Linked DNA regions of Homo sapiens: all the other regions are linked to region 6. The links are contacts of gene promoters, found by promoter capture Hi-C in blood cells and fetal thymus (Javierre and others, 2016). All regions are on one chromosome and are shown on one strand. The core of a region is centred on a gene start or on the middle of the fragment in contact, and the rest is flanking DNA. Distances in the headings are between cores, read along the strand shown.

What was found. The method cuts DNA at HindIII sites, captures the fragments that hold promoters and counts their contacts. A CHiCAGO score of 5 or more calls a contact.
Region 1: a fragment that was not itself captured here is called in contact with the fragment with the promoter of ZNF749 in region 6 in 1 of 17 cell types (non-activated CD4 T cells); the score reaches 5.1 in non-activated CD4 T cells.
Region 2: the fragment with the promoter of ZNF544 here is called in contact with the fragment with the promoter of ZNF749 in region 6 in 6 of 17 cell types (total CD8 T cells, total CD4 T cells, naive CD8 T cells and 3 more); the score reaches 8.9 in total CD8 T cells.
Region 3: the fragment with the promoter of ZNF835 here is called in contact with the fragment with the promoter of ZNF749 in region 6 in 2 of 17 cell types (naive CD4 T cells and total B cells); the score reaches 5.7 in naive CD4 T cells.
Region 4: a contact is called between the fragment with the promoter of ZNF497 here and the fragment with the promoter of ZNF749 in region 6, in 6 of 17 cell types (non-activated CD4 T cells, neutrophils, naive CD8 T cells and 3 more). The highest score is 8.7, in non-activated CD4 T cells.
Region 5: the fragment with the promoter of ZNF8 here is called in contact with the fragment with the promoter of ZNF749 in region 6 in 3 of 17 cell types (neutrophils, non-activated CD4 T cells and total B cells); the score reaches 7.8 in neutrophils.
Region 7: a contact is called between the fragment with the promoter of ZSCAN22 here and the fragment with the promoter of ZNF749 in region 6, in 4 of 17 cell types (neutrophils, non-activated CD4 T cells, total CD8 T cells and 1 more). The highest score is 7.6, in neutrophils.

The regions. Positions count from the first base shown.
Region 1 is chr19:58,300,528-58,303,227 of GRCh38, reverse strand. It overlaps ZNF8 (zinc finger protein 8), which reads right to left. Exons shown (of 4, transcript NM_021089.3): 4 at 437-2,700. The region is part of intron 4 of ZNF8-ERVK3-1 (ZNF8-ERVK3-1 readthrough (NMD candidate)); the gene reads right to left. Among named protein-coding and RNA genes, the nearest start is that of ERVK3-1, 3.5 kb to the left of the region's middle. The HindIII fragment of the contact is 9,060 bases long and covers 1-2,700 here.
Region 2 is chr19:58,227,567-58,230,266 of GRCh38, reverse strand. ZNF544 (zinc finger protein 544) reads right to left here and starts at 1,353. Exons shown (of 7, transcript NM_014480.4): 1 at 1,321-1,353; 2 at 697-799. RefSeq lists an enhancer at 651-1,477. The HindIII fragment of the contact is 1,767 bases long and covers 689-2,455 here.
Region 3 is chr19:56,670,346-56,673,045 of GRCh38, reverse strand. It overlaps ZNF835 (zinc finger protein 835), which reads left to right and starts at 1,289. Exons shown (of 2, transcript NM_001005850.3): 1 at 1,289-1,470. It overlaps LOC105372473 (a long non-coding RNA gene), which reads right to left and starts at 1,067. Exons shown (of 4, transcript XR_936110.4): 1 at 615-1,067. The HindIII fragment of the contact is 4,177 bases long and covers 1,195-2,700 here.
Region 4 is chr19:58,361,498-58,364,197 of GRCh38, reverse strand. ZNF497 (zinc finger protein 497) reads left to right here and starts at 1,447. Exons shown (of 3, transcript NM_198458.3): 1 at 1,447-1,521. It overlaps ZNF497-AS1 (ZNF497 antisense RNA 1), which reads right to left and starts at 1,572. Exons shown (of 3, transcript NR_136527.1): 1 at 1,446-1,572. It also overlaps the pseudogene RNA5SP473. RefSeq lists enhancers at 1,753-1,882, 1,612-2,160. The HindIII fragment of the contact is 6,825 bases long and covers 1-2,700 here.
Region 5 is chr19:58,277,636-58,280,369 of GRCh38, reverse strand. ZNF8 (zinc finger protein 8) reads right to left here and starts at 1,415. Exons shown (of 4, transcript NM_021089.3): 1 at 1,223-1,415. The coding sequence starts at 1,288. ZNF8-DT (ZNF8 divergent transcript) reads left to right here and starts at 1,628. Exons shown (of 3, transcript NR_187495.1): 1 at 1,628-1,847. ZNF8-ERVK3-1 (ZNF8-ERVK3-1 readthrough (NMD candidate)) reads right to left here and starts at 1,404. Exons shown (of 7, transcript NR_144447.1): 1 at 1-1,404. RefSeq lists enhancers at 820-869, 1,290-1,339. The HindIII fragment of the contact is 22,069 bases long and covers 1-2,734 here.
Region 6 is chr19:57,433,896-57,436,627 of GRCh38, reverse strand. It overlaps ZNF749 (zinc finger protein 749), which reads right to left and starts at 1,303. Exons shown (of 3, transcript NM_001023561.4): 1 at 1,035-1,303. The coding sequence starts at 1,049. RefSeq lists enhancers at 739-788, 1,419-1,718. The HindIII fragment of the contact is 4,352 bases long and covers 1-2,732 here.
Region 7 is chr19:58,325,563-58,328,373 of GRCh38, reverse strand. ZSCAN22 (zinc finger and SCAN domain containing 22) reads right to left here and starts at 1,380. Exons shown (of 3, transcript NM_181846.3): 1 at 1,260-1,380. LOC105372480 (a long non-coding RNA gene) reads left to right here and starts at 1,126. Exons shown (of 3, transcript NR_144444.1): 1 at 1,126-1,551. RefSeq lists enhancers at 1,080-1,409, 753-1,495. The HindIII fragment of the contact is 13,061 bases long and covers 1-2,811 here.

The sequences.
Region 1 (2,700 bases), core at 144-2,643, 870 kb before region 6:
CGTGTTGGTCAGGCTGGTCTTGAACTCCGGACCTCAGGTGATCCACCCGCCTCGGCCTCCCAAAGTGCTGGGATTACAGGCGTGAGTCACCTTGCCTAGCCTGTTTCTTCTTTACATAAATGGAAACATACTCTACAGTTTGACACCTTGCTTTTATCTACTTAACTATCTTAGAGCTCTTTCTCACATTAGTATAGTTTGAGGATCCCTAATTCAAAAATCTGAAATCTGAAACACTTCTGGTCCTGAGCATTTTGGATAAGGGATACTCAACCTGTATATAAAGAGTCTTCATTTTTAAGGCTATGATCTCCATTCCACCATAAATGACTTAGCCAGTTCCCCATGGTGGACATGGAGGGTTGTTTCCAAATTCTGACTTTTAAAATCAATAGCATAATGAAAACCATGTACAAACAGTCTGCACACATACAAATATATGTGTAGGATTTATTCCCAGCAAGTTTGCTTAGACAAAGGGTTTATGTATGTGTAATTTAGATAGTGGCTGATAAACTGCCCTCCACAGAAGTTGTATCAATTCACATTCCCACTGTAAATGTATAAGAACCCCTCCAATGCCCCCTTTGAGAAAACTCAAGGCTGGTAAAATACTGGGTGGAGAGCACATTGTTACAATCCTCCTGAAAGTTAATTTAAAGAGCTACATGAAATTCATAGAGAAAATCCTCAAAATAGAGTAAGCACATGTTACAAGACAACTAGAAGGGATTCCAAATTTCTAAACACAAGATAACTATACACATATATATTCCTCTGTGTGTATGTAAAATTTAGTGTACACTATGTATGTGTAGACACACGTGTATATTTTAAGAAAAAGCTGCAAGGAAAATTAGTAAAATCCTAATGGTAAGGACCATCTATGGATGGCTAAAGTATGAGGAATTTTACACAAGTTTTCATTTTTTTTTTACTTTTATGCATTTTCCAAGTTTTGCTACAAAGAACTCGCATTACTTTTATGAACAGAAAAAAACATGTCTTTTCCCTAGTTAACAGTAATTTCCACGGAGGAGTTTCTTATCTGTTTCAAAATATCTACAAGGAAATCAGTAGGAATATCATGCTTAGAAAATGTGAACTGAAATGAGAAACAGAAAATATGCAAAGATCTGAAACACTTCTGGTCCCAAGCATTTCGATAAGGAATATTCAAGCTGTATATAGAGTCTTCATTTTTAATGAATTTTTATGATCACCATTCCACCATAAATGACTTAGCCAGTTCCCCATGGTGGACATGGAGGTTCTTTCCAAATTTTTACTTTTAAAATCAATAGCATAATGAAAACCATGTAGCCTGCACACATATAAATATATATGTAGGATTCATTCCCAGCAGGTTTGGTGAGACAAAGGGTTTATGTATTTGTAATTTAGTGACTGATAAACTGCCCTTCATAGAAGATGTATAAGAACCTTCCCACACCCCCTTTGAGAACTCAAGGCTTGTTGAGTTCCAGTTGATTGCTTCATCCCAGCTTACCACCCTGTGGGGCTGCTATAACCTCAGCCAACCCCATGCCCCCTCAGAGAAGTATCAACTGTGACCCCTTCAGGACTGGCCATTTTGGGGGCCAAGGTGGAGGGAATGAGGCAATCACAGGCCTGACTTCCAGAGCTGTCTAGAACCATGCTGTCATTTTTGGTCCCACTGCTTCAGAGGGGAGGAGCTTTCCTGTCTGGATTCCCAAGCCTGTGCCCCAAACTGCTGGTGGAGCAGAAAGGAGGAATGATCCAGAATAGGGTTTTGGTACCAGACTGTTTGGTTCACACTCTGGCTGGGCCACTTGGTAGCACATTACTTCTCCTCTTAGGGCCATCCTGCACTGTTGGTGGCAGTGGGGATGAAGTAAGCAAATCCGAAATGTTTACATGGCAAAATCAACAGGACCTCTAACTCCATGGAGTGGGGAAGGGGAGAGGTCAAGAAGACTGGTTTTCTGGCTTCCATGATGGGATGGCAAGTGGAAACAGCCTCCAGGAAAGGGATCAGGGAAGCAGAGACTAGTCTGGGTGGAAAATGAGTTTTGTTTGGGGTAGGCTGGGTTTGGGGAGCTTTCGGCACACCTCGGGGAGTTGCCCAGTAGCACACAGCAGTTGTTTGGGTCTGAAGCCCAAATCTCAGAAGCACCAGACTGATTTGGTGGTGAGCAGCACAAAGCTAGGGATGTAGATGACACCTGGGGAGGGCGTGGAGCACAAGGTGGACTCTAGGACCCCAGCATTTAGGAAGGGTGACGGGAGGTTGAGAAGTCCCTGAAGAGTTAGAAGGAACCCCACAATGCAAGGAGATGGAGCTCTGCAAAGAGGTTAGCAGGCTTCACAGTCCTGGGGATGAAGAGAGACGACACCAGAGGTAGTACCTTGGACAGTGGTTGCAGTGGGTTCTGTGAAGCAGTGGGGGCGGACAGCAGGTCTGAGGTGTGAGCTGCCACCAAGGGAATAGGGAGCACAAGCGATTCTCCCAAGAGCTTGAAGGAGAAAAGCAGCAGATACGGCTAGCTGCCTCCATCATCCACCAAGGGAATAGGGAGCACAAGCAATTCTCCCAAGAGCTTGAAGAGAAAAGCAGCAGCTACGGCTAGCTGCCTCCATCATCCACTTCCCAGGACTTTTCTCTCCCACCTGTCTCCACCACAGAGGTTAGAAAGGTAAATACGAGGTTTCTAAGCC
Region 2 (2,700 bases), core at 104-2,603, 790 kb before region 6:
GACATAAAATTCCCCATCTGTTCCTCATACTGGACCTGTATGGTGGCTGATCTGGCAGAAGTCCCTCTGGCTGCAGGGCTGGGGAGGGAGTTGCTTTCTCTTTCCTTTTCCAGTTTTCTCCTTCCCTGCTTGTGGGGTGACGTTTCCAATCTGCTCCAGGTTACGTGTCCAGCCCAAACCTCCTGGGCTTCCTGCCACTGCCATTCCCTCCTCCACATTCAGCCATGTCACCCACATGCTCCTCAACTCCCATGCAGAGACTGACCAGGCATACCACATCTTCCTTGCACTGTGACTTCTACCCTGGCTCCACGCTGGAAACAGAAACACAGTCTTCCTCCACTCCTTCCTGTCTTTTGGCATCCCTCCTTACACGGAGTCATTTCCACAATCAGATGTTTCCCTACTCCCTTAGACTCTTGAAATCCAACCCCATGCCTTCCTCATTAGCACTGCCTTGTACGGTCCCCATCAAATATCACCCAACACAAATGGAACCCCGATCCCTAACTTACAGGCGTTACATACACATCCCATCCTGTTCACCTCTGTAGTCTCTCTATGGGGTGCACCAGCATCGCTTAACCAGTGCAGGCCCCCAACACCCCAGTTACCCCTGCCCTGCGTGGACTGGCCTTAATCTTCTGTTCACTTGGAAAATACACATGTTCTCTGCAAGGTTCAAGCTTCACGTACCATTGGAAGAAAATGTGTCCACGTCTGGAGCTGGGATGACCTCTGGGGTCCAATAGGCGTCACCTGCCTGGTGCCGCTGTGCCAGGAGGCTCTTGGCTGCCACCTGTGGATAAGCCGCAGAAGATGAGTTGAGGGAGGAAAAAGGAGCCGGGAGAGGCCCGCTGGGTCGGCAGCCCCAGAGCTCCAGACGCCAGCCTGAATCCCCCGCCCCTGCAGCCCTCGACCCAGGCACCCTCTGTCGGGAGGGCCCACCCAGTCCCACCCAGTCCCACCCAGTCCCACCCAGTCCCACCCAGTTCCACCCCTGCCCGTACCTGCGAGGTACTATAAGTTCCCTCCCAGCTCTGCAGCAGGAGAGCCTCCCGACAAGCTCAGACCCAGCCGGGCGCTCCTGCAGGGGAAACCTGACTGGACCGGCCTTCCCCGTCCCTGAGGCCGGAGAGATCCCGATCCCATCAGGCCCCTGCCCTTGCTCGGCCTCGCCGCATGAGGGACCCCCGCAGGCCCTGCTCGTTTCTCCGGCACGCCCAGATCACTTGGGGCGGCTCTGGCCTGGTCCTGCGCTCCGGCCGCACCCGGCTAACAGTGAAACCTCCGAGCCAACCTTGAGGCCGCCAGACTCACCTGCACGCACCGGCCAATGGCGGTGCTTCCGGTGGCCGGCGGACGTGCCCGCGCTCCGCGCAACAAACAACTCCCAGAAGGCCGCGCGCCGGTAGCCGTTGCTCCCACAGGCATAGTCATTGCCGGCGGGAGCATGGGGCCCCGCGGCGGCGGGATGAGCTTTTTCCTGTGTTCGCGACTAGCATTGTGGCTTAGGGAGTTGCTTCCCGCGGCTCTGCTCCTTGCAGCGCCTGTCCCCTCCCCCTTAAACGGGCCACGCTGGTTCTCATCCAGCAACCGAAGCCGAGACTGTGGAGGCGGCGGTCGGCGTCCAGGGCGGGACTAGCGCCTATGGGGCTCGGCGCTGTCATCTCGGGTGCCTTCCCGGCGCCTTGCCCTGCTGGGGAGAGAGACCAAGACTGAGCCATGAGAACAGTCCAAGGCCGTTAACCGGGAGCTCAGGGGCAAGGGCGCCCGCCAACATCTGCGCCTGTGGCAGGGACTCAGGGACAGCCTGGGCGTGGGGACGCGTCCTAGTGATAGAAACAAAGCCCCGGGAGTGCCCTGCTTGGAGCATTCCGAGTGGAAGGTGGAAGCACGCTAACTGGAGGCGATTCGTCCTAGGTGATCGCTCAGTCGAGCCTATTTGGCTTTCTGTGGTAGCTCCTAAGTGGGACAGGGAAAAAAATAGGGAGGCTGGCAGTGACCAAGTTCTGTTTTGTACCTATTGCTGCAGAAGTTGTGGGACAGAGTTCTGTTATTATAAATGGTCTGATGTTCAGTCTCAGTGCGTTGTGGGGCTCAATGTCTGAGACCCACCACCGCCTGACCCGTCCTGGCTCTTCAATGAGGGAGACCACAGGAAACTTTCCTACGAAGGCCAGGTAGGCGGGAACCACTGTGGCTCAGGCACCCTCAGCTCCTGGACTGTGCTTTTGTGTCTGGGGTGCATCTGTGACTAGCCTTCCTTGGCTTGACTGTTTTGTAGCTGACCTTGTCGATAGCTTTACCCAACAGTCATCATCTTTTTACTTGCTTATTTTCATACCTGGCTAGCACGACCCTGCAATTTTTAGATTCTTCCGGGAAATCTAGAATCTAACTCCCTAAGGGAGGATCTTGATGGATTCTAAGCTAATCAGAATGGACTCAAGCTTCTTGCTGTGTGAATTAGGCAAGGATATTCTGGCCAAGGAGAAATAAGGCTGCTAGGGGTTTCCTGGGAAGGTTCCCTCAGTCTTTTTTTTTTTTTTTTTTTTTTTTTTTTTTTGTGAGACGGAGTCTCGCTCTGTCCACCAGGCTGGAGTGCAGTGGTACGATCTAGGCCCACGGCACTCTCCGCCTTCCGGGTTCACGCCTTTCTCCTGCCTCAGCCTCCCGAGTAGCTGGGACTACAGGCGC
Region 3 (2,700 bases), core at 40-2,539, 760 kb after region 6:
AAAAGATGAGAGAAACATATTTTTTCAGGAAAAACAAACTTTAAAAAAAAAAGAGGAGAAATAAAACCTTTTCTCCCCTTTCCCCATCCTCTATCTATCCCTGTTTCCCAGGAACAAATCAAAAGGTGGATTATCTTCTGAAGAATGGAAACTGTTAGTCCAGAATGATGTCTTTTTCTCAATGCAGTGAGTTATAGATTCTCTAGTTTTCTCCCTAGGGATGGGAAGGGGGCATTGACGCAAGCCTGGAGAGGAGCCCGGGGAGCAGGGTCATGAAGTTTTTTCTTCAGTGAAGGAGGAATACAATCAAGGGTTTTGTATTCAGAATGTTGTGCAATATTTTGGAATAGGACATTGGTGTGTTTAGAGATTTTAGTTTAAAAACAAAACAAAAAGATTGATCAAATCTGTACAGTTTCTATTGTTCCAGATTTTTTAAAGTTTGTATTAAAAGCATGATACATAATAAAAATAAATAAATAAATAAAACTAAAAAGTAAAATGAAATTCTTCATCTATGTTAATGGATTTGCCACCTTCTTTGCCATAGACTGGAATGACATCAGCTACCTGAGACCAAAATAAAAGTGTGGGTTGCAAACCCTGGCACCTACCTTTTTAGATTCCGCAGCCTGCAGTAGGGACTTAGCCTGTCTGAACCTCAGCTTCCTTCTTTCTTCTTCTTTTTTTTTGAGACGAAGTCTCGCTCTGTCACCCAGGCTGGAGTGCAGTGGTGCGATCTCAGCTCACTGCAACCCTCGCCTCCCAGGTTCAAGCCATTCTCCCGCCTCAGCCTTCCAAGTAGCTGGAAGTGCATGCCACCATGCTCGGCTAATTTTTGTATTTTTAGTAGAGACGGGGGTTTCGCCATATTGGCCAGGCTGGTCTCGAACTCCTGACCTCAGGTGATCCACCCGCCTCGGCCTCCCTAAGCGCTGGGATGACAGGTGCCCGGACTCAAGTTCCTTCTTTCTAAGCCTGTGGGCTCGGCCTCATCCCCTGAGCAAGAAAAAAGTCCCACCCCTGAGTTACTGGAAGCGCCCACCGCCATGCACTGAGGCTGTAGTGGGCGGGGCTCGGGGCAGCAGCCCGGCGCTCCTCGGGCCCCCAGGGGTCAGCGCCCTGCGGACCTAGCGTGTGCAGACGCTTAGCCTTCTGGGAGTTGTAGTTTCGATGACCCAGGCTTTGCAAGCTTTAGTCGCGGTGCCGGCGAGCGCGCAGCGCCCCCTGGGAGTCGTAGTTCCTAAGAACCAGGCGGGCCCGATGCGCAGGCGCAGTCCACCCCGGCCTGGTGCGCGGGCTCCTCCGCAGCAGCAGAAGTCTTGACCTTAGCTCGTCTAAGGAAGGAGGCACCAGGGTCTGCGTTGGCCCAGGAGGACCCGAGACTGAGTAGAAGCGGAGCCGACTGCACCAGGCTAGGAGGGGGCCGGCCAGCGCGTTCGAAGGTGATACCGGGAGGCGAGAGCAACGGTGTGTAGTGTGCGCGTGTTCCTGCAGGTGTGTGACCGCGTGTGAGCCCGTCCCCGAGTGCCATTGTGTCTGCACCTGTTCACTTAGCGGTGTCAGCCCGTATAGGTGTGTGACTGCCTGTGAGCCCGTCCCTGAGTAACACAGCGTCTGCACCTGGTCACTCGACGGTACCAGCAGGTGCAGGTGTGTGACTGCCTGTGAGCCTGTCACTGCATCTGCACCTGCTTACTCGGCGGTGCCAGCCCGTCACTGTGTCTGTACCTGCTCACTTGGCGGTGCCAGGCCGTGCAGGTGTGTGACTGGCTGTGAGCCTGTCCCTGAGTGTCACAGCGTCTGCACCTGCTCACTCGACGGTACCAGCAGGTGCAGGTGTGTGACTGCCTGTGAGCCCGTCCCTGAGTGTCACAGCGTCTGCCCCTGCTCACTTGGCGGTGCCAGCCCATCACTGTGTCTGTACCTGCTCACTCGGCGGTGCCAGGCCTTGCAGGTGTGTGACTGCCTGTGAGCCCGTCCCCGAGTGTCACTGTGTCTGCACCTGCTCACTCAGTGGTGCCAGCCCAGGCAGGTGACTGCAGGTAAAGGCATGTAACACTTTATCGGTGTGTTATGTGCTCGTTCATGTGAAGCGGTGTCTGCATATCACAGCATGTCACATACACGTGTGGCTGCCTTTGGGCAAGTCTGAAAGTTCTCCTGGATGTGAGGTGTGTGACCCCACGTGTGCATGTCTGGGTGTGCCGCCGTGTAGGCTGGCTCGGCCCGTGTGCCTGCCAGCACAATGATGGGTGACCTGGCTGTGCGAGCCTGTAGAGTGCCGTGCTGTCTGAAGTGTGTGCATCTGCACATGATGGAGACGCTGCACATGTGGGCTTTGGCTATGCTGGAGCTCTATCCACCGAGTGTGACTGCACATGTGTCCAGCCATCCCCTGTGGGTGTGTCCCAGTAATGGCCGGCCTGTGTGGAGCAGGTGGCATGTGTGACCTTGTGCGTCTCTGTGCACCTCTTCACACAGGGAGCTACGTGTGGGGCTGGGTGTGTGTGTAGCTACGTGTGCCCGGGACCCTGTGTGCATGTGTGAGTGTGGCTGCAGGTGATGGCTTCCCACCTGCCTCCTTGCATGGGGGTTAGGAGGGCGACTGTGTGTCCCTGGATATGGGTTTGGGTGTCTCTGCATGTCTGTGTGTGTCTGGGCAGGTATGATTGTGTATGACCCTGTGTGTGTCAGAGT
Region 4 (2,700 bases), core at 198-2,697, 930 kb before region 6:
GTCCCACGATGCTCACAGGTCCAAAGTGACCACTGCCAGGGCCAGAGGGATGGACTGCCCTGTGCTGTGGACCTGGGCCATGTACCCACACCTGCCCAAACCACCTGGGCTGAGGTGAGAGCTCCCTAGTACAAATTGGGAAAAATTGGTACAAAAAGAGCTCGTGGAGGCCGGGTGCAGTGGCTCGGGTCTGTAATCCTAGCACTTTGGGAGGCCAAGGTGGGAGGATCACTTGAGCCCAGAAGTTCAAGACCAGCCTGGGCCATATAGCGAGACCCCGTCTCTAGCTATTCATTTATTTTAGCTTACAGCATCTGGTCTATGTTGTTTTTTGAGACGGAGTCTTGCTCTGTCACCCAGGCTGGAGTGTGCAGTGGCACGACCTCAGCTCACTGTAACTTCTGCCTCCCCGGTTCAAGCGATTCTCCTGCCTCAGCCTCCCGAGTAGCTGGGATTATAGGCACACGCCAACAAGCCTAATTTTTGTATTTTCAGTAGAGACGGGGTTTCACCATGTTGGTCAGGCTGGTCTCGAACTCCTGACCTCGTGATCTGCCCGCCTCGGCCTCCCAAAGTTCTGGGATTACAGGCGTGAGCCACCGCGCCCGGTTTATTTATTTATTTTAGCCAACAGCACTCGGTGTTCCCAGACGGTCTCCCAAGTACTAACCAGGCCCGACCCTGCTTAGCTTCTGAGATCCCGACTCAATTTTTTTTTTTTTTTTTTGAGACGGAGTCTCGTTCTGTCGCCCCAGGCTGGAGTGCAGTGTCGCGATCTCGGCTCACTGCAAGCTCCGCCTCCCAGGTTCAAGCGATTCTCCTGCCTCAGCCTCCCGAGTAGCTGGGACTACAGGCGCCCGCCACCACGCCCGGCTAATTTTTTGTATTTTTAGTAGAGACGGGGTTTCTCCGTGTTAGCCAGGATGGTCTCGATCTCCTGACCTCGTGATCCGCCCGCCTCGACCTCCCAAAGTGCTGGGATTACAGGCGTGAGTCACCGCGCCCGGCCCCCGACTCTATTTTAAAAACCGCGTGGATTCCAGCTTGGTGGGTGTTCCACAGCGCGTGGGTGTGAGACGCAGCTCAGTGGCGTCAACTCAGCAAGGTTCCAGGGTGGTAAAGACGGCCTGGGGCCGGAGGAGGACCGCCAGGGAGAAGCTACGTTGGCCCGACTTGCGTCCGCGACCCGGGCAGCCCCAGGCGCCTGTGTAGCTGTTGGGTGTGTGCCGCAGAGGCTGGCCGGGTGCAGGAAGGGGCGGAGCGCATCCATGGCAACGCAGGACGCCCGAGTAGCTTGGCTGTGGCGCCGTCCCCATGGGAACCAGAAGGCGCGCGCCCGCAGCCGCGGCATAGTTACGCAGGCGCAGTGGGGAGAAACGCGACGCCTTGGGCCGCTCTGCCGAATGCAACCGCGCCCCCAGGAGACCCGGTGCCCGCCCTCCTACCATTCCACGCGGCTCGAGCCCGCGTGCGGGCCTCTTTCAGGCCGCTCCTAGTGGACGCAGAGGCGGGCCGAGGACGGTGAGTGACGCCGACGGACACCCTCGGCCAGGCACAGATCCGCCCTCCGGCTCCAACCACTCCCGCCGCGCGGGGCAGGACGGGCCTCGGCCCTGAGCTGGGCCCTCTGGGACCACCGAGAGATAGGCCTCCGCGCCGTCCAGAGCGGCCCGGAAGTGGCCCTGCACGGGCCAGAGGCGACCGTGGTCGGGACGGAAATGGCTCCCGTTTGCTGTTCTCTCGGTGAACGCGAGCCTTATGGCGATCAGTTCTGTGGCATCGTTCCTCCTGCTCGTTTATTCTTTCACTCATTCACTCATGCCCTGCCGCGCCATCATTTCTTCCCACATTCATTTATTCGTTCATCAGTCCCCAGCCCCGGGTAGTTTCGGAGCTCACCAGGCTGGGCTCGCCTCCCAGCCTCCGGAGCTGCCCGCACAGGCCTCGCGCCACCTGGCCGCAGCTTCCTCCCCTTTATCCACTCCGTATTTGTTTGTCCAGCCTAGGCCTTGGGGGTTGTGGGGGAGACACAAGTACCCGTGACTGGTCGGACAAGTGCCCGTTGTTGGGGGCGTGGGCGCTGGGACTGACGCGGGAGGTGGCTCTGATCATGTCGAGGTGAGGAGGAGGCGTTGAGGCTCAGAAAGGGCACGCAGCGTGGACGTGAGGACGTCGGGGAGGCTGGAGCAGTGAGGCCGACAGGAAGGACCTTACGGGGCTCACATGCTATCCCACGACGAGGACGGACTCAGGACGGCAGCCCTGATAGATGCGGCTGGGGGCTGGCGGGTCGGGGTCGCACACCACAGGATGGAGGGGCAGCGGTGCCTGGCTCCGCCTTAAGAAACATGGGCCCTTGGGGGACCCGGATTTCTGATACTTCAATACACAAATATGGATTTTTATTGAAATCAGATGTCGTTTTTTTAAAATTTAACTTTTGATTTGAGGTAATTATAAATTCACATGCAGTAACAAGTAATGCATACCCTATGTACGCTTTACCCAATTCCCCTAAAGGTGGCATCTTGAAAAACTAGAGGCCAGGTGCGGTGGCTCATGTCTGTAATCCCAGCACTTTGGGAGGCCAAGGCGGGTGGATCCCTTGAGCTCAGGAGTTAAAGACCAGCCTGAGCAACATGGTGAAACCCCATCTGTACTGAAAACACAAAAATTAGGCGGGTGTGGAGGCTGGTGCCT
Region 5 (2,734 bases), core at 166-2,665, 840 kb before region 6:
AGATGCCATGTTGCAAGGATCCCTAGCAGTTCCAAAGAGAGGCCTACATGGAGAACAACTGAGGTCTCCTATCAACAGACATGTGAGTGAGCCATCCTGGAGGTGGATCCTCCAGACTCAGGTCTCAGGTGACAACAGCTATGCTGACATCTTCACTGTAACTTCATGGGCCTGAACCAGAACCACCAGCTAGGACATTCCATTACTCCTGTCAGAACTCGTGAGATATTTATTGTTGTTCCAGGTCACGAAGTTTTGAGTTACACAGCAACAGGTAACTAATACACTTTCTCTCAAGCCTTTCTTACGACTCATTCCTTGTCCCCCATCCACAGCAAGAACAAAATAAAACGTGGTAGCATTTCATGCAAATTTGGAGCAACACACATCTGAAAACCTGCAACCTAAGATTATCAAGTCTCACTTTGTGTACCAAATCTGAAATAATGCAAATCCCCATGAACAAACCAACGACAAAAAATAAAAAAAAGTATAATTTCAAAGTTGCAGAGCTTGAGGAAGGATAATTATTGTTGTTTCCTGCCACGCGAGGCAGCTTTATGGAGAACACAGGCCGCAACCACTTTGTCTAGAAAGTGGAGCTCTGATGGCCAGATGGCCCTGCAAACACTGACCGCCCTGCACTGCAGTTCTCCCACAGTCTCGCAGGGGACGACCCTGGTGGTCACTCTCATCACACTCAGTGCGTGGTGACCCATCATTGCCCCCAAGAGGTTGTGCCCAAGCCCCAGGGCAGGGGCTCCGCGGTGCTGGGGTCCCGGTGGGTGTCCGCTGACTCCACGCGTTAAAGCATCTCTATTCGATGATTCTTGCCATCTGGGCACCCGGCCAACGCTACAATTACTGTTATCAGTCAACACGAGGACAGACCTTCCTGGAATGGGCAAGGGTGTCGGCGGGGCGGAGCAGAACGCAGGAGATGGGCCTGCTCGATTCTCTCGGGAATGACCGACCCCAGCCCTGGGGAGGACAGAGCCGCGTGGAGCATGCGCATTCGGGGGCCAGGCGCCTGGTTGGAATCCCGGCCCCCTCTCTGACCAGCCAGGACGGTCACCACGCCCCGACCCGCGTCTGAGTTTCCCCACGTGTCAAGGGCATTAACAGCGGTGCCGCTCTCATCGCGCCGCGAGGTGAAAGGGTCAGTCTGCGCGGGAGACGCTTGCCCGGAGCCCGCCGCCGTCGTTATTGTTGTTATTGTTACCTGAAGCCGGGCCGCCGGCGGCCCCACAGACATCACTCCCGCTACCCCTTCGTCCTCGGGGTCCATGCTGGATCGCCCAGTGAAGGACAGCGCCTGAGGTGATCCCCAGACCAGAGAGGCACTCCAGCCAAAGGGACCACCCGACTCGCCGAACGCCGGACAATGGCGGCCGCACCGGCGACGCGGCGACTACAACTCCCAGTAGGCCGTGCGGCGAACCACAGCCCTCGGCCAATGGGAGTCTCCGCTGGTCTGGCCTTCGACCAATGGAAGCATTATGGCCGATGGCCAATGGGAGCCCCCACCCGCTGGCCTCTGGCCAATGGGAGCACTCAGCTAAGGCTGGTGGGGGCGGTGTTGCTCGGGGCTGCGATGCCCCTTAGGTTGCGGGCAACCAGAGGCCTCACTCGTGGGCAGGAAGCAAGGGCGGACCCCGAGAGATGACTGATTGTGGGGGTGGGGACCGTCTGCTCCTCCTAATGGCTGGGGACCGTGCACGTCTGCGCGGGCCGGACCTGCTCTTCTCGGGAACTTGCGCGGGAGGAGGCCCGGAGCTGCGCCGCTTTACCCTCTGCTCCCCGGTGCCTAAAACGCACACGCATCAAAGTCACAGGACGAGTTAGAGGTTTGTTCATATAAAAGACTTTGGGCTTAGCGGCTGGAAGCGGGGAGGCTGGGAGCGGTGGTTGTGTTACAGGAAAGGGGTCCGATTCAGACCCCAAGGGAGGGTTCTTGGATCTCGCGCAAGAAAAAATTCAGGGCGAGTCCGCAGTGCAAAGTAAAAGCAAGTTTGTTGAGAAAGTAAAGTTGTGAAACAGCTACCCCATAGACAGTAGGACGTTCCTGAAAGTAAGAGGAACGTATGCACCCTAGGTACAATGCTTGTGTATATTTGGGCTAAAAATAGATTTTGGGGAGATGTGCTCTGCTACAAGGGTTTGTGAAAAAGGATTAATTTTCTTACTGTATTTTTCAAGAATCGATATTATTTTTAAAGCAAAATTAGGAATGCCTTTGTTCTCTAGATACCGGGATATCTGGACACTCCCAAGTCTGGGTCTGTTTTAGTACCCATTATTAATTTGTTCCCTTAACCGTAAACATCTAGAGGTTAGGAATACCTACTTTTCTGGGAATGCAGCCCAGCCTCATTTTCCTAGCCCTCACTCAAAATGGAGTCGCTCTGGGTCGAATGCCTCTGACAGCCCTATTGCTTCTCCCTGTGGGTGTTCACTTTGTGATGTGTCTTTTTCTGTGGGTCTGTTGTAGTCCATTAAAATGTTTATTAAAGGTCGGGCGCGGTGGCTAACGCCTATAATCCCAGCACTTTGGGAAGTCGAGGCGGGTGGATCACGATGTCAGGAGCTCGAGACCAACCTGGCCAATATGGTGAAACCCCGTCTCTACTAAAAATACAAAAATTAGCCCGGCGTGGTGGCGGGCACCTGTAGTCCCAGCTTCTCGGGAGGCTGAGGCAGGAGAATCGCTTGAACCTGGGAGGCGGAGGTTGCC
Region 6 (2,732 bases), core at 54-2,553:
CTAAAGAGTGGCCCTCAGGGCCAGCTGAGTTAGAAGGGTGGAGTGACTACAATTATCTCATGCCTCAGTCTCTGTATTCCAGGGCAACTCCTTATCCATCCAGGCCTCTTTTTCAACAGAAACAGACCAGACTCTTAGCCCATATCTGCTCCCTTCTGCAGGGAGTATCAGAGATGCCCTCCCTACCATGGTCTTTCCTCCAAATCTGAGCCCTCCCCTACCTCAGCCCATATGAAAAAACGATGTAGGATTCTTCCTTCTCAATCTGATCCACAGGCCAACTTCTCAAGTGCACAACTTCTAACTCATTTAAAGCTCCAGGCCAGCTACCTTCCCTCACCTTTGGAAATTACGTCCACCTACCCATGTGATGTCGCCCAAAATCCAACCCAGGATCTTCTGTCTGAAACCCGCTCCTTAAGCTGATATCTCTAATTCCATTCTTTCAGATTTTTCAGGCCAAAACAAAACCTATGGAAGACACCATTCACTACCGACTTTCCCTCACAGCTATGTTTGATGCAGCAGGAAATCCTGTTGACCCTATCTCTGAGATCCATCCAGAGTCTCATCACATCTCCCCTCTACTGCAACCCCTCTGGCCCAGCCCTACCATAACTCAAGGGGTCTCCTCAGCGGTCCCCCTGCCCCCGTTCAACATCCTGTTTTCCCCAACTTTAAACTTCTAACTCTGGGCGTGACCCTCCCATTCGTCCTCCCTGCACAGCCCTCTATGGCTCTCTGCGGCTCCACTGCCCTTCCAGGGGAGACTCCGCCTCAACCTCTGCTCCTTGGAGACAAAGACGCTCGGGCTCCCCAGTGCCGCCCGTTCTGCAGTGCCTCCAAGCCCCAGAGACGTGTCGGTCTCCGACGGGAGCTCCCCCGCCTCATCGCACCGCAGTCCCAGTCCCGGGCACCCCACACAAGAACGCCCCTCTCTTAGAGACACAAGGGCCTAACCTGCAGGGCGGCTCCTTGGGACTTCAGCACTGGGAGGAGGGGTTGGGCGGGGCGGCCTGGGACGCTGCACGCACCTCGGTCAGGTTCATCGGCGCGGCCTCCTCCAGTCCACCCAGGGAAGAGCGGGGCGGGAACGGCGGTCACCTGGACGCTGACGGAGGCAGGGGCGCCTGCAGCCGACTCAGCCGATCCGCACTCTAGCCTCTGTGTAGAAGGAACACCGCTTCTCGCGTTTTTCCGCTCTTTCACCTCAGTCCCGACCCAGAGCTCTGGGACCCTCTAAATCAGTGAACAGATCCCTAGGTAGCCATGCTAACGCAACCATGAGGGCGCCGCCAGAAGTCCCGCCCACACAATTGAGACCTCATTAGTCGTCTCTCTGCTAGACCAATGGCTACACTCGCTGCCCTGCCCCCGCAGTGTCTTCTGGGTAATGTAGTTCTCACGTTGCTGCCTGTGTCGCCCGCAGTGTCTTCTGGGTAATGTAGTTCCCACGCTGCTGCCTGCCTCGCCTCACAATGCTGGGCGCGCGGACCTTACGGAAAAAAGCTGGAGGCTCCTGGAGGAGCGTTAAGAAATGCAGTTCCGGGGCTCTTAAGGACGTGGAGGGGCTTTGCTGACTCCTAAACTGCAAGTAACCAGATTTTCCCGGAGAGCAGTCTAGGACAAGTCTGAGAAATATTTCAGAGACCTGTCGTTTCAGATTCTCTGAAGCACAGCAAGTCCCGAAAGGAAGAACATCAGAAGCGACATGGCTGACCATAATGAACTGGTCCTCCATTCATAGCGGTCAGCTCTTTTGTGCTTGTCAAGTACACACATACTGAGGCTCTGGAGACTTTTTTTTGATCGTTAGTGTGCTTCTGTTGGGACAAGAAAGAAAAGACCCACACAGGATGTGATGGAGAGTTGAAGGAGGAATATCTTTCTGTCGACGAAAAGGGTGGAACTTTGTGAAATAGTTGAAGAGATTTATTCTGAGACAAATATGAGTGACTAATGGCCCATGACACGGCTCCAAGATATCCTAAGAACATATGCCCAGGGTGGCCCATCTACAGCTTGGTTTTAACAATTTAGGAAGACGTAAGACATCAATCAATACATGTAAAATGTACATTGGATTCCTCTGGAAAGGCGCAACTGGAAGGGAGGGGCGGGGCTTCCAGGTCAGGTGGGTTCAAAGATTTTCCGATTGGCAATTGGTTGAAAGAGTTTGTATCTAAAGACCTGGAATCAGTAGAAATGGTTGTCTGGGTTAAGGGGTTGTGGGCCGGGCGTGGTATCTCACGCCTGTAATCCCAGCACTTTGGGAGGCCGAGGTGGGCGGATCACCTGAGGTTGGGAGTTCGAGACCAGCCTGACCAACATGTAGAAACCCCATCTCTACTAAAAATACAAAATTAGACGGGCATGGTGGCACATGCCTGTAATGCCAGCTACTCGGGAGGCTGAGGCAGGAGAATCGCTTGAACCCGGGAGGCGGAGGTTACGGTGAGCCGAGATCTCGCCATTGTACTCCAGCCCGTGCAACAAGAGCGAAACTCCGTCTCAAAAACAAAAAAAGACAAGGGGTTGTGAAGACCAAGGTTATATCATGCAGATGAAGCCTCCAGGTAGTCTTATAAGGCCTTATGATAAGGCCTCAGCTCCTGAGCTAAAGCTATCTTCCCACCTCAGCCTCTAGAGCAGCTGGGACTGTAGGTACAGGACACCGTCCCTGGCTTTATTCAGCTTTTTACAATGCACTACAAAAAGTCGGCATTTAGAGC
Region 7 (2,811 bases), core at 131-2,630, 890 kb before region 6:
ACTCAGTTTCAGCTGCAGACATGGCAAAGCACAAATCCTCTCTCATATGCTTGGTAAACTGTTTGTGGATCACCCAAGTTTTAGTCTCCCTGATAAAAATCTCAGTCAATCAGATATTAACACATATTATCTCAGGTACAGTCTGTCAGCCACAGCCTTCAAAATACCCAGACACAGGAAATATCTCAATGTCACCTATAATCAGTCAAATAAACACAGGCCTGGCCAGGCATGGTGGCTCATGCCTATAATCCCAGCACTTTGGGAGGCCTAGGCAGGTGGATCACCTGAGGTCAGGAGTTCCGGGCCAGCCTAACCAACATGGTGAAAGCCCGTCTCTACCAAAAATACAAAAATTAGCCAAGTGTGGTGGCCGGTGCCTGTAATCCCAGCTACTCGGGAGGCTGACGCAGGATAATCGCTTGAACCCGGGAGATGGAGGTTGCAGTGAGCCGAGATTGCGCCACTGCACTCCAGCCTGGGCAACAGAGCAAGACTCCGTCTCAAAAATAAACACAGGCCCTCGCAGCATTTCCATCACACAGTATTATTCTGATCACAGTCATTCATAATCTTAGTCACCATCTCAAGGACACACAAAGAAAATCAGTCACACTTGAAATCCCACCGTCACACGCTCACCCTCTCACAGTATCTCACAACCCACGTAGGAAGTCTCAAACGGCAACCATCTCTGTCAGTCACACACTCCATGGTTAGTGTTACACTCAACCTATCAGAATCACACACTCCAACCCGTCAGATACACACACCCAAGAGGTGTCAGACACAGAACCGCCTATCAGACACATAAACGGGTCCGCCCCACACCCTCCCAGGCCACTGGTCCTACATTTTATCTGTTATCTGTCCGCCCGCTCCACACTTCGTCCGCCCCACACCCGGTCAATCAGTCCATCCGACACACACTCCGTCAGTCCGACACATTCTCCGTCGGTCCGTCCGGCACTCAGTGTGTCATTCCGCACCACATTCGGTCCGTGAGTCTGTCCACACCGGGTCCGTCAGTCCGTGCACACACGGTCCGTCCACGCCTGGTCCGTCAGTCCGTCACATCCTCTGCGCGTGTGTCCGGCACTCGCAGTCCGTCTACTCACGTCCCCTAGTCAGCCTCTCACTCTCTACCCGCTGGGCGGTACCCCGCATCTCGCTCTGGCCGCCCCAGAGGTTCGCGGCTTCTGGACCTGCTGTGCCCCTCTCCAGCCTGGATCAGGACGGAGAACACCCCCGAAACCCACCTCACCAGCACAGCCGGCGGACCCTTCCGGAGGTGGCCGCAGAGACTAGCCAACTTGCGCGCCCGCCGACCCGGACCACAGCTCCCAGCACACCTCAAGGGCCCACGCCCGCCAGGACTACAATTCCCGGCGTCCTCCGGAAGCTCAAGTGTACCCAGGCGCGGTGCCTGCTGGGAATTGTAGTTGACGTTGGTCAGCACGGAGGCCACAGGATCCCAGCCCGGCCTTTGTGGGACTGAGGTGGCGCTGAGTGGGAGAGCAGCAGGCGATGCGCGAAAGGCGGGACTTGGAGGTGAGGGAAATGTGAAGGCTGAGGGTGAGAGTGCCTGTGTGAGGCTGAGGGTGCCTGTGTGAGGGTGAGGGTGAGGGCGGCTGTGTGAGGGCTGAGGGCTGAGGGTGCCTGTGTGAGAGCTGAGGGTGCCTGTGTGAGGCTGAGGGTGCCTGTGTGAGGCTGAGGGTGAGGGCGGCTGTGTGAGGGCTGAGGGTGCCTGTGTGAGAGCTGAGGGTGCCTGTGTGAGGCTGAGGGTGAGGGCGGCTGTGTGAGGCTGAGGGTGGCTTTGGGAGGGCTGAGGGTGTTTGTGTGAGGGGTGAGGGGTAAGGGTGAGGCAAGAAAATCGGGTCTGGAGGCAGGGAACCTAAGGACTTCCTAGAAGTAAATCAAATGGAAACTGCAGCTATGGTAGGAAATATCCTCTCCATTTATGCAGGGCGTACATGGAGTAAATCACTTTGTAACTTTACTTCGTCCTCTTCATTTACATAGGGCATATACCAAGTAACCAATGGAAACCTCTAGAGGGTATTTAAACCCCAGAAAATTCTGTAACCGGGCTCTTGAGCCCCTATGCTCCGGCCTGCTCCCATACAGTGGAGTGTACTTTCATTTTCAATACATCTCTGCTTTTGTTGCTTCATTCTTTTCTTTGTGCATTTTGTCCAATTATTTGTTCAAGATGCCAAGAACCTGGACACCCTCCACCAGTAACAAGGGTACCTGGGTGAGAGGTGAGGGTGCCCATGTTAGGAGTGAGGGGAGAGGGTGCCTGTCTGAGGGCTTGTGGGTGTGAGTGTCTGTGTAAGTACTGAAGGTGCCTTTGTGAGAGGTGAGCGGTGTGGTTGCCTATGTCAGGGTGTGTATTGAGTGTAGCTATGTGTGGCTCTCTGTGAACACATGTAATCATTTTTATAAATGTGTATCATTTTTTACTGAATTTGAGCTGGGCGTCTGTCTGCATGAGTCACTCTGTGACCAGGTTTGTGGGTTGTTCTGTGTGCTTACTCTGCGTGTGTGTGACCTGTGATTTAATCATCATATGTGATAATCATGCAGCTGTGTTTGCCTGCACCAGGTGTAATTGTGTCTGAGACAGATACTTAGAGGTAATGGGGTGGACCTGACACAGTATAAAGGCCCTAGACTGTGTGTGATGTTGTTACGGTGACTGTGAATGGTAGTGTGATTGTGTGATTCAGTCGATGCCTGGACTGTGTGTGAGAATGTATCTTCTCTGTGTGTGTGTGTATGTGTAAGAGACATTGAGCAGGAGACTCT